Linked DNA regions of Homo sapiens: all the other regions are linked to region 1. Evidence: promoter capture Hi-C in 16 types of primary human blood cells and fetal thymus (Javierre and others, 2016). All regions are on one chromosome and are shown on one strand. Each heading gives the region's core, a stretch centred on a gene start or on the middle of the fragment in contact. The rest is flanking DNA. Distances are from core to core; before and after follow the strand shown.

The links. The method cuts DNA at HindIII sites, captures the fragments that hold promoters and counts their contacts. A CHiCAGO score of 5 or more calls a contact.
Region 2: a contact is called between the fragment with the promoter of TULP2 here and the fragment with the promoter of TEAD2 in region 1, in 5 of 17 cell types (naive B cells, total B cells, naive CD8 T cells and 2 more). The highest score is 6.3, in naive B cells.
Region 3: the fragment with the promoter of GYS1 here is called in contact with the fragment with the promoter of TEAD2 in region 1 in 4 of 17 cell types (M0 macrophages, endothelial precursors, M1 macrophages and 1 more); the score reaches 8.0 in M0 macrophages.
Region 4: the fragment with the promoter of PRMT1 here is called in contact with the fragment with the promoter of TEAD2 in region 1 in 10 of 17 cell types (naive CD8 T cells, naive CD4 T cells, total CD4 T cells and 7 more); the score reaches 15.7 in naive CD8 T cells.
Region 5: a contact is called between the fragment with the promoter of NTF4 here and the fragment with the promoter of TEAD2 in region 1, in 16 of 17 cell types (total B cells, total CD8 T cells, M0 macrophages and 13 more). The highest score is 12.8, in total B cells.

Annotation. Positions count from the first base shown.
Region 1 is chr19:49,360,894-49,363,665 of GRCh38, forward strand. TEAD2 (TEA domain transcription factor 2) reads right to left here and starts at 1,523. Exons shown (of 13, transcript NM_001256660.2): 1 at 1,440-1,523. It also overlaps a transcript of DKKL1 not described here. RefSeq lists enhancers at 1-607, 608-1,316. The HindIII fragment of the contact is 6,430 bases long and covers 1-2,772 here.
Region 2 is chr19:48,897,333-48,900,104 of GRCh38, forward strand. TULP2 (TUB like protein 2) reads right to left here and starts at 1,412. Exons shown (of 13, transcript NM_003323.3): 1 at 1,258-1,412; 2 at 505-537; 3 at 13-64. The coding sequence starts at 536. RefSeq lists an enhancer at 807-1,622 and a cis regulatory region at 1,157-2,156. The HindIII fragment of the contact is 14,951 bases long and covers 1-2,772 here.
Region 3 is chr19:48,991,977-48,994,748 of GRCh38, forward strand. GYS1 (glycogen synthase 1) reads right to left here and starts at 1,333. Exons shown (of 16, transcript NM_002103.5): 1 at 1,019-1,333. The coding sequence starts at 1,136. It overlaps RUVBL2 (RuvB like AAA ATPase 2), which reads left to right and starts at 1,911. Exons shown (of 15, transcript NM_006666.3): 1 at 1,911-1,947. The coding sequence starts at 1,936. RefSeq lists enhancers at 890-1,029, 1,720-1,809 and a silencer at 1,240-1,599. The HindIII fragment of the contact is 2,230 bases long and covers 1,245-2,772 here.
Region 4 is chr19:49,675,941-49,678,712 of GRCh38, forward strand. PRMT1 (protein arginine methyltransferase 1) reads left to right here and starts at 1,331. Exons shown (of 11, transcript NM_001536.6): 1 at 1,331-1,376. The coding sequence starts at 1,341. RefSeq lists enhancers at 816-965, 970-1,701 and a silencer at 1,546-1,825. The HindIII fragment of the contact is 22,690 bases long and covers 997-2,772 here.
Region 5 is chr19:49,063,408-49,066,179 of GRCh38, forward strand. It overlaps NTF4 (neurotrophin 4), which reads right to left and starts at 1,411. Exons shown (of 2, transcript NM_006179.5): 1 at 332-1,411. The HindIII fragment of the contact is 7,079 bases long and covers 1-2,772 here.

The DNA of each region.
Region 1 (2,772 bases), core at 273-2,772:
GAGGGGGACAGAGACCAGAGAGAGAAGGGGACAGAGACCCAGTGAAGGGGGGGACAGAGACCAGTGACGGAGGGGACAGAGACCCAGAGAGAGAGGGGGACAGAGACCAGAGGGAGGGGGGGACAGAGACCAGAGGGAGGGGGGGACAGAGACCAGAGAGGGGGACAGAGACCCAGAGAGAGGGACAGAGACCCAAAAAGAGAGGGAGACAGAGACCCAGGGAGAGGGGGAGACAGAGACCAGAAAGAGGGGGACAGAGACCGGGGGGGGGGGACAGGGACCAGAGAGAGGGGTCCAGAGGCCCAGAGAGGGAGACAGAGACCCAGAGAGAGAGGGTGACAGAGACCCAGAGAGAGGGGGACAGAGACCCAGAGAGAGAGGGACAGAGACCCAGAGAGAGAGGGGACCAGAGACCCAGAGAGAGGGGGACACAGACTCAGAGAGAGGGGGACAGAGGCTCAGAGAGAGGGCAACAGAGACCCAGAGAAAGGGAGACGGAGACCTAGAAAGGGCAGGGACAGAGACTCAGGGCAGCAGCTGAGGCCGAGACCAGGAGAGACCCACAGAACCACAAGCTGGGGGACAGGGGCGCCCTGCCATCAGAAGAGCCAGAACAAAGGGCCCAGGCGTCCCCTCCCCCAGCTTCCCACAACCCCCATCAGGGGAGGGGCTTGCCGGCCAGGGCGACTCCCCTCCGGCACCGGGCCCCGCCCCTCCCCTCCCCCGTGCGCCGTGGGCTCTGATCCAACTCAAGTTCCCAGTGACTTTCCGGAGGCCGGGAACAGGGAAAACTTTTTCCAATACAGTCAGATCCCGCCTCCCCGGAGGCTCCATGTCCTCCACAGCTTTCCCAGGACCCCAGAGTCCAGGCCCCTATTCCCCTCCTCCCGCCGACCATAGCAGACAAAGACCCCAGCCAAGCCCAGTGGCGCTGCGGCGTTCAGGACCCCCGTAGGCCAAAATCCCAGCCCAGCCCTTCCCCATGTGGCCAGACAAAGGGACGGTGGAGCCGGGTAAGAAAGGTCCCCCTAATTTCCCGCCCCAGACCCTAAACCTCCAAAGAGGCAAGACTTAAGATCCAGAAAGCCCCGTAACCTCCCCTCGGCCACCCCAGAGGCCCTCCCTTCTCCGTAAGAAGGACCAAATGCCCCCCAGATTACACAAGGGGTCCTTCTCACTCCAAAGTGACACCGCCGCAGACGCACGCCCCACACCCCGCCAGCGCCCTTGGCCCGCACCCGCTCCTGCGCGCACGCCCAAACTCAGACCCAGCCGCAGGCACCCTAACTCCGGCCAGAGTTCCCACTCCTCACTGAGGCTCGGTCACGGGAGCAAATTCGGGCCCCCGGGCAAAAAGAGGGCTGCGAACCATTCAGAGACGGTCCCGCAAACGCACGCCTCACCTCCTAAGAAGCAACTCCCCACCCCAACTCACACACCCCAAAGCAGGATCCCCGACTCCCGCCGGCGCCTTCCTACCTCCCGGCCTGGGGCTGGGGAGCCGCGGGCGGGCGGGGCGCTGCGAGGGAGAAAGTTGCCGGGAGCTTTGTTTGGGAAAAGTGGGAGGGACCGGAGGGGGGGGCGGGCCCGGCCGGCGGACAGCGGGAAGGGGGATCCGACGGTGACAGTTTGGGGAAGGATTTTTGCTTTGGGAGAGATTAGTCTATCTCGGGGCTGGTAGGAACTCAGGATTTGGGTGCTTGGGAAAGGAGGGGGATTGGGGGTTCGGACTCCAAGTCGGAGGGAAAAGGCTGATAGGAGCCAGAAACCCCTGATCTGAGGGAGGAGAGGCTGGGGGCTGGGACTCCTGGGTCTGGGGGCTGGGACTCCTGGGTCTGGGAGAGGAAGCGGCTGGAGAGAGATATGGGCTCCTAGGTCTGAGAGGGGACGGGGCTAGGCGCCTGGAATCCCGGCTACCCTCGTGTTTGTGTATTGGGGGTGCGGAAGTGATACGAATACAAAGAGTCTTTACTGTTAAGCCCTGAGGTTTTTTTTCTTTTTTTCTGTTTGGTTTTTGGTTTTTTTGTTTTTTGTTTTTTTTGTTTTTTTTTTTTTTTGAGGATTGGGGTCTGGGGATGGGTTTTGACTGATTCCTATGACGACCTGGTTTCCTTGTGACCTCACCACAGTTAAGAGTCGTGGGCAGGACCACCGGGAGTTTATTGGAGGCCCACGTAGGTGCAGATTCCTCATCTACAGGCGCTAGTGGACTGGAGACGGCTGGCGGCTGTCCCGGGACGGGGAAGAGAGCTTTGGTGCCTGAGGGAAGATGGCTTAGGGCCCGGTCCCTTAAGGGTGAAAGGCTGCGTGTTCAAAATTACGGGACTAGAGGGGGCGGGAGTCCGGACCTGAGGTCCTCAGGGAAAAGGAAGTCTGATTCTGGGTTCCTTGGAAGATGAAATATAAGACTGGATTTAGGGTTTCCGGAGACAACGGGACTTTTTAGTGGAGCGGGAGCGGGAAAACCAGAAGGGACACGGAGAAAAGGTTCCGAAACAGATACACAATTAGAGTGAGAGCTAAAAGGGATGCTTGTACTCCGGTGTCTCCAGTAGGAGGAGCCTAGGACTGGAACTTGGGGTGATGAGGGCAAGATCTGGGACGCAGGGGCGTGGTCCAGTGCAGGGGCGTGGCCCAGTGCAGGGGCGTGGCTTTCAGCCAAGGGGCGTGGCCATTGCGATTGGGCGGGACTCCGAAACGAGGGCCGCAATCAGAGAACACCGCCAGGACTTCCAGGACTTGGTCTCCAGGACTGAGGTCAACTGACGTGGG
Region 2 (2,772 bases), core at 162-2,661, 460 kb before region 1:
TGGGCACAATACCTGCTGTTCCAGCTTCTGCAGCCTCATAGCAGCGAGCTCATGCCCCAGGATGCTGAGAGAGACACAGGCCCATGGTGACAGTGCACAGGGAACCTCGGTTGCCCAAGAGAGTCCCTCCTTCCCCCATCCTGCCCCTATCTCAGCTTGGGTTCTGGGCACCTGTGAGGTCACAGGAGGTGCAGAACCTGAGCCTGCTCCACCAGTTATAGGGCCCTTTCTCCTGGCACTGGCCCACAGAAGCCGGGACCCAGAGATCCCAGGTCCCTCCTGTCTCAGGATTCAGGAGTCTGGGGCCCCCAACCCCTTCTCTTTCAGACCCAGAAGTCTGCACCCTAGCCCCATCCCTTCAGGACACAGGAGTCCAGGTCCCCAGCCCCTTCCTGCAAGGCCGATGGTGCTGAACCTGCAAACATGGTTATGAAGCCAGAGCCGAGTGCACGGGGTCCCCAGCCCTTTCCACCTCCACCCCTACCCATCTGTTTCCCTACTCACTCTCTCATCAATGTGTCATTATCCTGAGACATTCTGCAGAAGCAAGAATGAGGAGTCAGGATCAGAACCAACATCCCAATGGATCCTGCCCACCAGCACCTAATCTTTAGCCTTATTTATTTATTTATTTATTTATTTATTTATGTATTTAGAGACAGCTGAGCCTCGCTCTGTCGCCCAGGCTGCAGTGCAGTGGCGCCATCTCGGCCACTGCAACCTCCACCTCCTGGGTTCAAGCGATTCTCCTGCCTCAGCCTCCCGAGTAGCTGGGACTACAGGCGTCCGCTATTCTGCCTAATTTTTTTGTATTTTAGTAGATACCGGTTTTCACTATGTTGGCCAGGCTGGTGCCGGACTCCTGACCTCAGGTGATCTGCCCGCCTTGGCCTTCCAAAGTGCTAGGATTACAGGCATGAGCCACAGTGCCCGGCCTGATCCTTACCTTTAAATTTGCTTCCGGACCCAGGCAGCCCGAATCCCAGCACCCACTCCTGTCGGGATCTAGTAGCCTGTTTCCAGCTTCCCACGGGGGTCCGCAAGTCCGCTTCTCTCTCCCCCAAATATCTAATTCTCCAGCACCCAGGCATCAGAACTCAGGACTGTGCACTTCAAACACCCAGCCCCCAGCGGCCTAGAACTCCACTGCCCACCTGCCTGGGATCCGGGAGACTTGTTCTCCTCACCAGGTGCCTGGAGAGGCTGCTCACATTGATGCCTCGGTACCTTGCCTCTCTGGCCAATCTCTAAACATACCTGATCCTCTCTTTGGAAGCTGGGGACCTAATCTCGGGATATCTGCGAAATAGGGAGGAGAAGAAAGACGGCTCAGAGGGAGGGAGGATTCCCTCTGGGACCTGAACTGGTCCACTCCCTTCTGACCCTCCACTCTCCACTTCCAACAAAGTAACGAACTCGGTCACTGATGCAGCCAGGCAACCCTGCTCCGGGGGTTCTGAACACGAATGCCGTGTGGGGGTTCCTTAAAGAGACCAGAGACCGGCCCGGCGCGGTGGCTCACGCCTGTAATCCCAGCACTTTGGGAGGCCGAGGCGGGCGGATCACGGGGTCAGGAGATCTAGACCATCCTGGCTAACATGGTGAATCCCCGTCTCTACTAAAAAAAAATATATATATATACACAAAAAAATTAGCCGGGCGTTGTGGCGGGCGGGCGCCTGTAGTCCCAGCTACTCGGGAGGCTGAGGCAGGAGAATGGCGTGAACCCGGGAGGCGGAGCTCGCAGTGAGCTGAGATCGCGCCACTGCACTCCAGCCTGTGTGACAGAGGTAGACACCGTCTCAAAAAAAAAAAAAAAAAGAGAGAGAGAGAGCGGGAGACCAGAGACCTCGCGGCCTCACTGTACACATCTCGCTTACAAGAAACTTAAAAGAGGCGGGGCGCAGTGGCTCACGCCTGTAATCCCAGCACTTTGGGAGGCGGAGACGGGGAGGCAAGATTGCTTGAGTCCAGGAGATCCAGATCCAGACCAGCAACACAGAGATTTTTTTTTTTTTTTGAGACGTAGTCTCACTCTGTCGCCCAGGCTGGAGTGCAGTGGCGCGATCTCGGCTCACTGCAACCTCCGCCTCCCGGGTTTAAGAGATTGTCCTGCCTCAGCTTCCTGAGTAGCTGGGATTACAGGCATGCGCAACCACGCCTGGCTAATTTGTATTTTTAGTGGAGGCGAGGTTTCTCCATGTTGGCCAGGCTGGTCTCAAACCCTTGACCTCAGGTGATCTGCCTGCCTCAGCCTCCCAAAGTGCTGGGATTACAGGAGTGAACCCCCAAGCCCGGCTTGACATCCGTCTCTTTAAAAAACAACAACAACAAAGTGTGAGAAGTGTGAAAGACAGAACGTTAAAAAAAAAAAAAGGCTAAAAAAGAATTAAAGATTTAAATATTTGTATTAAAAATTTAAAAAATATACATTAGCCAGGCATGGTAGTGTGGCCTGTGGTCCCATCTACTTGGGAGGCTGACGCGGGAGGATTGCTTGGGCCTGGGAGGTAGAGGCTGCAGTGAGAAGTGATTGCGCCACTGCACTCCAACCTGGGTGACAGAGCAAACCCTGTCTCGAATAATAAGAAGAAGAAGAAAGAAACTCATAAGAAAGGCTATGCAATTGCTACCGCGCTATAACTTCCAGGCACTTCGTGGGGCGAAAATAAATGGGAAAACTACAGCTCCCATGAGGCGAAGGGGCCACGATGCCCGCGGAAGTTATTTTTCCCCCGGCCGGCAGGGAGTTGTAGTTATCTTTGAAAGCCT
Region 3 (2,772 bases), core at 83-2,582, 370 kb before region 1:
GGTCATTCCCTGCCCCCAGGGACCTTGCTGACCTGCCTCCCAATTTCCTCTCCCTGACTAGGGACACCAGCATGCAGGGCTCTGCCTCTCCCATGACCCTATCCCAGACCCAGGAGCCCCAGCCCCCAGCCTCCTCCCATCCTGGAGCCCAGGCCCTGGCGATACCCGGCTGGGTGTTCACGGGCCCCCTCTCCTCCTGGGAGACACAGTCCCTTTCTCCTCCAAGACCCAGCAAAGCAACCCCCCAGACCCTGCTCTTTGAGGTGTGAGATTGGCTTGTTCCTGGGGATTTCAGCCCCAGCCTTCTCCAAGGCCAGAACCTCAGCTTTCTGAAGCCCAAGACACAGAAATGCAGGCTCCTAGCCCCTCCCATCCTAGGGCCCAGCCTCTGACTAACTTAGGACTTCCCAGCCTTCCCCTATTCCAGTACGCATGTGTCCCAGGCCATGGGCTCCTCTACTCCTAGGAACTAATAGCTCAGGCCCTCAGCTCCTTCAAAGCCCAGGCATTCATTACAGTCTCCAGCCCGTCCCATCTTTATTCTTAAGCAGCCAGATCCTCAGGTCCTCCCACCGCCGCTCAGGCCTCCTATCTCCCAGTCAGCTCTCTCTCAAATCTGGAGTTTTATCCCCTAGACCATGCTGTTAGGGTCATAGGTCTGAAACCCCGGCAGCTTCCCAGGTTTGCACGCAGAAATCCCATCCCCCCATCCCCTTCCCTGTTCAGGACCCAGGTATCTAGTCTCTCGGAAGCCTGCCTCCAGGACCTAGGAGTCTCATTTTAGCGCCCTCTTCCCTAGGACCCAGAACCCGGGCTTCCAGCCTCCTTTCATCTTAAGTCAAACGAACCATCCCTCTCCCACCCACCTCCGGCTTCCCAGCCCCTCCTCAAGGACACAGCCTCCTTGCCCAGGTCACAAGGGTTCCCCTAGTAGCCCCGTCCTCCTACAACTCAGAGTTCCGGGCCCCCATCCACTACTGTCCTTCTCGTCAAGGGCCCCGACGCCTGGCGTGCTCACCCTTGTTAGCCACCTCCCAGGCCACTTCGAAGAGCACTGCGTTCTCCAGGTCGAATTCATCCTCCCAGTCCTCCAGTCCTGGCAGTGAGGACATGGACAAAGTGCGGTTTAAAGGCATGGCTGGCGCAGGAAGGGGGGCTCCGGGGATCTCCAGGTAGGGACCCCGGAGGTGTCTAGGGAATGCACCAGGTAGGGTGCGGGGCCGAGTAGCTGGTGCCCGACGGGAAGCTTGCAAGACGCTCGGCTTCCTATTGCAAGACCGCACCCCTGCCCCGAAGCGTTGGGACCTAGGCAGAAGGAGGCCGCAGCGTCACTGAGCCCACTGGCGCCCCTGCAGTGAAACCTCGCAGCCGCCAGGAGGCGGTGGCCGCCCCCCCCAGCCAGCGCCATTGGCCCACGCCCGGGGGCGGGGATTTCCGCGTGTCCTCATTGGTGGAACGGGTTGGAGTCGCTGTGTCCCGGCCCCGCCTCGGCCGTGAGACCTCCAGGGGGCGGAGCTTGCCGCTGCGCTTTACGGAAACGAGTGGCCTTCAGCTCTGTCAATCTGGAGCTGGAGGCCTCAAAGTGGGGAGGAGGAGGAGGGTGGGATAAAGAGGAAAGGAGCGTGGAGGACGTGTGGTTACTCAAAGAACAGCTAAGAATTTTGCAATCGGCCTGAGCGGGGCGGTGGTGGGGCTGAGCAAAAGGAGGAGGAGCCAGGAGACATTGGGAATGGACCCAGGAGTTCCGGACGCCCGTCTTCCAGCGCAGCCTCGGTGGGAGGGCGGGGCATAAAGTCCCGCCACGCCCCCACAATATTTACATATTTATGAGGAACCATCGAGATCTTTGAAGAACCAGCTAGCCTAGAGGAGCCAGAACATCTCGCTCCTCGCGCGTTTCCGTTTCCGCTAGGACTCTGGCAGTTGGTGAGCATCATGGCAACCGTTGTAAGTGTGGGTGCATGGAGGGTGAGGAGCGAGCTAGCAGTCTCGAGTTTGAGAGAGGAGGATGCTGGAGGCCCTGACTCCTGGGTCTGAGGGAGGGGGGATCTGGGGGTTCAGACTCCTGGGTCTGAAAGAGGAGGAAGCTCGGCCACCCAGATCTGGGGGAGAAGGGGACATGGGGGCTGGACTTCTGGATCTGAGGCGGGGAGGGGGCTGGGATCCCAGAATCTCGGGTCTGGCCCCATCATGCTATAGGAACTCCAACTTTCAAAATCATCTTGGCGCAACGGCCGGTTCCGCAGTCCTTGGCGCCAGTGTGTGATGAGGAGGGTTGTAGGACCTTGCGCTTCGAGCCATTTGGGAGCCTTGGATTGTTAGTGGTGCCAATGGCACTTGAGTTCCAAGCTGGAAGCACAGGCAGGTACCTGTTCAGTGTGTCTGAGAGCGCGAGGGCGCCTAGTGAGCCTTTAGTGGGAAGAAATTGTCGAGGAACAAGAGAGTCTTAGTGGAGAGGACTGAAGGATTAGGGACCCAGAAATCGGGATCTTGTCATGCTACCGTTTTGGCCATTTTCATATTTCCAGTATTTCACACGGGCTACGTCTCAGTGTAAATGCTCAATAAATTATCACTTGAATATTTGAATGAATGAATACATGTGAATGAAGGAGAGGCCAGGAAACTTGGCCTGGCACCTGCTCAATTACCTGAATAAAGAAGCGATTTTGGCCTGGCGTGGTGGCTCATGCCTGTAATCCCAGCACTTTGGGAGGCCGAGGCGGGCGGATCACTTCAGGTCAGGAGTTCGTGGCCAACATTGCGAAACCC
Region 4 (2,772 bases), core at 81-2,580, 310 kb after region 1:
GTGATCCGCCCGCCTCGGTCTCCCAAAATGCTGGGATTACAGGCGTGAGCCACCGCGCCCGGCCGCCTGGCGTAATTTTTGTATTTTTAATAGAAATGGGGGTTTCACCATGTTGCCCAGACTGGTCTCGAACTCCTGATGTCAAGTGATCCGCCTGCCTCCGCCTCCTAAAGTGCTGGAATTACACCCGTGAGCCATCGCGCCCGAACCCTATTGTAAATTTTAAGTCTCAGGCGTTTGCCAGCGGCACGCCAGAGAGTATAGCCTGCGCGGAGGCCCAGAAACCAAAGAGCGAGCTCATTCCGGGATTGGAGAGAAGTGTGAGCAGAGGGAAGTAGAGGGATCGGGGAGAGGAGGGGCAGGACCCACGCATTCGGCCCTTTGCATTCAGCTTCATTCAACTAGGAACTTTTTCTGCAAATCAAGGAAAGCTTCCCGGAGGAAGTGGTGCCTAAGCTGTGCTCTGATTCACGTTTAGAAGCTGACCAGACAAAGAGAGGTGGGCGTTCCTGGCAGGGGGAGGGACTTGGCAAAAACCAAGTGGCTTGAGAGGGGTTGATGGTTTTAAAAAACTTGGAATGATTATGTCAAGGGCTAGGGATTTAATGTGTTGACGACGGACTCCTATTCCTCACTTGCTTCGGGACCCCAGCTATGCCCTTCCTCTCTCTGGGCCTCTCACCGATTCCGTTTTTCCCCCAGGTAATGAGCACAAGCTCCCTTTTTCCTCCAGACTCCCCCCGGGTTGGGAGGATCCACCGAGTGGACGAGGAGTGATAATTCCTTTGAGCCAATCGTTGGTGCCTGAAGCCCCGCCTTCTTCCCTACCCGTGGGCCAATTGCCGTGTTCTCCTTGAGGCCGGCCGCTTGGCGAGGGTGGGCCAAAGGCTGCGTGACGTCGCTTCCGGATAAACCAATGGCAGCGATTAGGAGGCGGGTCGTTTTGGTGATGGACAGGTGTTTCAAGACGCCCCTTTAGCGCGGGGCTCCCCGGGAAGCTTTGAGGCGGTGCTGGGTGTAAAGGGGAGGGCATTCCTGGTGGATTTTGCCCAATCACCAGTCGCGCTTCTTGCAATAGACGGGCAGTTTTCCCCATCCCGGGTCGACTTGAGGGGGCGGGATTCTGGACGCCAGAGTTGGCAAACCCCTGACCTATGATGGACGTATTCTCTAGCCAATTACTAGACGGTATTCTCAGACGGGCCGCCTCCATTGCCAATGAAATCTTCCAGCGGGGTCGCGGTAGGCGGGCCGTGGACCCTCTGGTATAAGGCGGTCCCGGGGGAGTGAGGAGAAAGGGGGGGTCTTGGCGGCCGGAGGAGGAGTAGGTGCGGGTGAAGATGGCGGCAGCCGAGGCCGCGAACTGCATCATGGAGGTGAGCGCTTGGAGCGCCGCCGTGGGCGGGAGGCGGCTTTGGGTCGGTGTTTCACGCCTCTGTGGTGGGGAAAGGGCTCTAAGTTGGCGATATGGGGTTGGAGGTCCCCCGCCGCACACGGGGGCGCCGCACGTTCCACATCCGGGGATATCGTTTGAGGTGACGGCTCCCTAGCTTCCAAGGGCCTTCGGCATCCGGCCTAGCGGAGGGTCTTATCCCCCCTCCCACGTGGAGGAGGGCTGGGGGCGCTTCCGGCCAGGCCCCCACGTGGCCGCTGCGCGGTGGGTGGGGAGGGGGTGTGCCGAGTCCAGTGGCCCGGCGGGCTCCACGTGCGGGACAAAGGCCCCGCCCCCGGCCGGGGAGGGGCGCCCAGGGGGGCGGGGAGGGGGTCCGACCCTCCTGACGCCCCCAGCCCTCCTCCCCGGGGACCTGGGCACACGCCGTGGGGTGTGATCGACCTGGGGCCCTCCACGATGTGGGGAGTCTCTTGGGAGGAGCAGTGCTTCTCAGCCCTTTACCAACCTCCTTCCGAGCTCCGGGGGCATCTGTTGGGATATCGGACCCGGTTTTGTGCGTTCTGGGTTAGGGACTGGAGGAAAACCAAGAATGGGGTCCCCCGCCGACCCCGTTTCCCCTCCCAGAATTCTCCCCCTCGCCCAGGGCTTTAGGAGTTGGGGGATGGGGCATGCCCCTGTGACCTCCCTCTGGGTGGTGGTGGGGCATCTAGATAGAGATTTTCCCATTAATAGGCGCCGTGCACCCCCTTGTGGCCATTTCTGGGTGTGTGGGAGGGACATCTTTTTCATGGGGCGTGTCCTGAAGCCCACCTCCCCTCGGATTTCTTCCTGGCGGGCGGAGGGAGGAGGGTATGTCCGCTGGGAAGGAGTTGTGGGAAATATGTAGGCTGAGAGCTTTACCCTACTGGAGCCGTTTATCTCCCCCGGGTCTTTGTGAGGGTGCGAGATGACCTCCTTCTTCCTGAAGCCCTGTGCAGGGTCCTGAGCCCTGGGGTCCTGAGAGTGGGTGCCTGAAATGGTTTCGAGTGAGGTTTGGTTCTCGTGCAGCCATGTGGGGGAGGTTTCAGTCTTGCGTTTCAAGCCCTCTGGGGCTGGGGTTGTCTGGCGGTAGTTTTCAGTGGTATTGAGAAATAGGCCCGAGTGGGAAACCCCCTCAGCACCTTTCTTCTTATAGGCATCCCCGCTAGCTTGGGAGAGCTGGAGGGAGGGTGCTTGGAGCCTAGTAGGTCATGGCCTGTGACGTGGCCCTTCTTGGAGACTTGGATAGTGGTCACATCTGGAAGAGATGTAATCTGATGGGGCCTCTGTCCTTCCACCCCTTACCTATGGCATTGGCTGGAGGGGCAGGTCAGCTCTCAGCTGTCAGGATGCAGCTCCCA
Region 5 (2,772 bases), core at 161-2,660, 300 kb before region 1:
CCCAAGTTCATGGCATTCTCCTGCCTCAGCCTCCTGAGTAGCTGGGACTACAGACTCAAGCCACCACGCCTGGCCACATTCCACAATTTAGAGAAAGGTCACAACCTGGAATCCTAGGGAGACCCCAGTTCACCTCAAAACTGCCACTAAGGAGGTAAAACGCTGCCCCTCTGAGGCAGGCTTCAGTTTCCCTGTGTGTGAAATTGACCTGGCGCTGGGAGAGGCTGGTGGAGGCGCGGATTTTGCAGTTTCCCTACAACATTCTGGAAGCCTGTGGTTCTGGGAAAGGGTGGCGTGGAGAAGACTGGGAAACAGTCAGTAGTTACCAGACCTGTCAGCACCTCCTCCGCCTCGGAGCTCTGGGGCTGGGAGTCCCCAGGCTTCGGGGGGCCCCTGTGGAGGACACAGGTGGCCCCCTCCTTCCTGACATCTCAGGAGAGGGAGGGGGCAACCACCTAGGGGAAGAAAAGAATAGACAGGTTATAGAGGCAGGTGGGGAAGGGGCCAAATCCCTGAACAACCCCTTCCCAGAGTTCCTCTTCAAGTGCAGGGTACCCAAGAGTCAAGGCCCCGCCCCCTTTCCAGAGGCCCCTTTTCTACCCAGGTGATGGCTCCTGGCTGGGATGGGAAGCAGATGGAGGGAGGGGAAGGGAGAATAGGGGAAGGGAGAGGCAGTGGATGAAGGAGGCTGGAAGAGATTACATCCCCCTCGGCCCATTCATCTCCCAGATGGGGCGGAACTGGCCTGGACACCCGGGTCCCTGAGGGCCCACACTCAAGAAGCCCTGGTTCCCCAAGCTGCTTCCTGGAATGTTCCCTCCTCACAGGACAGGCCAGGGCCCGCCCAAGACTTCTGCACATACCTGGAGTGGCTGCCTGCCCTGGCTCCTCGGTACAGGAAAGGGGAAGGGTGGAGAGTGAAAGGAGCCCAGGCTGACCCAACCAGGACCGCCTTCTCCCTCAGACCGAGTAGTGCAGACCCCAGGGCCTCCACCTTCAGACCCAGGAGTTCAGATCCCCAGCGCCCTCCTCCCTCAGACCCAGGAGTAGTCCAGGCCCCCAGCGCCCTCCTCTCTCAGACCCAGAAGTCCAGGCCCCCAGCACCCTTCTCCCTCAGACCCAGGAGGAGTCCAGGCCCAGGCCCCCAGCACCCTTCTCCCTCAGACCCTGGAGTCCAGGTCCCCAGCGCCCTCCTCCTTCAGACCCAGGAGTCCATGCCCCCAGCGCCCTTCTCCCTCAGACCCAGGAATCCAGGCCCCCAGTGCCCTCCTCTCTCAGACCCAGGAGTTCTGGAATTCAGGCCCCTCCTTCTCGGATACTAAGAAATGCAGACTCCGGGTTCCTCATCCTCCAGATTTGGGTTGGGGGTTCCGGACTCCGAGACCCCTCAGGGGAAACCGGCTGCATATCTGGGACACTTCCCTCTTGCCTCAGTTTCCTCCGCCAAGCCCCGCCCCGGTCGGCCCCGCCCCCGTCCCTCCCCACCCGAGGGCAGGGCGACCAGGACGCCGGAATCCCGAGGGAGGAGGAGTGGAGATCTTACCTGGGGCGCCCTCTTCGGCTCCCGCGGCTGCCCTCCGCCCGGCAGCAGCTCCTCCTCCTGCTCGCTGGCTGCAGGGACGCTCGCTGGCCCGCCGGGTGCTAGCTGCTCACGCTCCGCAGGGCCCGGGTCGGGGGCGGGGGCGGGGCGGCGCCGGGCGGCAGAGGAGGGGCCGGGGGATCCTGCCTTGCACTCGCGTGCCGGGACCTTGGAAGCCAGGCCTGGCTCGTTCAACGCGGCCGCCTTGGTCACAGGAGTCCCAGTTTCCAGCTGCCTCCTCCTTTGGACCTAGCAGTCCAGGCCCCCAGCCCCTCCTCCCTTCAGACCCAGGAGTCCAGGCATCCGGCCCCTCCTCCCTCAGACCCAGGACTTGCGACCCCAGCCACCTCTCCCCCCAGCCCCAGGCGCCTGAGTACTAAGCCCACAGTTCCCCCCACCACCTCCCAACCCCGCCCCGTCTCAGACTCAGGAGTCCAGCCCCCAGCCTCCTCCTCCATTAGCCCCAGGAGTCTGGGCCTGAGATTCCTTTGCCGTCTTTTGCCAATTGCGTGTCAATCCCGGGGCAGATTCCCACCCTCTGCTCTCCTCCCCACTTCCCAGGAGCTCCACGCCAGACATTAACCAGCTGGGCTTGGGCAGTGATAAGGCCCCAGGCCCGGGGAGACAGTGGATGTGGGGGCTCCCGCATACTCCTCTCCCCTGGAATTTCCTGGCTGGGGACCGGGGAGAAGGTCTTGTCCTGAGCTCAGATAAGAGACGTGCAAGGTATCATAGGACCAGAGATAGACAGATGTGTCTTAAGAACAATCAGCTACCTTGAGAAATGGTGCGCGGTGACATGAAGGGAGAGATAGGGAGAAGACATGGAAAAGTGGGGAGAGACCAAAAGAAAGAGGGGGACCGAGACTAGAGAGAGTGGGGGAGGGCAGGAGCCCAGAGAGAAGACAGAGGCCCAGAGAGCGTGAGGGCAGACCCCCCCACCCCCCCGAGAAGGGGACAGAGCCCCTGAGAGACCCTGAGAAAGACAGGGATGGGACCGGAGCCGGAGTGTCTCAGGACAGTCATGAGGGCAGCGGGGCTCCTCACCCCACCACACCTCTACCCTGAGACTCCGCTCCCCTCCGCCTGCGCTATTTTCAGAAGGAAAACTGACACCTGCCTCGAGGGTCATCCCACACCCCCTCAGCCTAAATATAGCATGGCAAGGTGGCAGGAGGGTGTCCCCGGTTAGG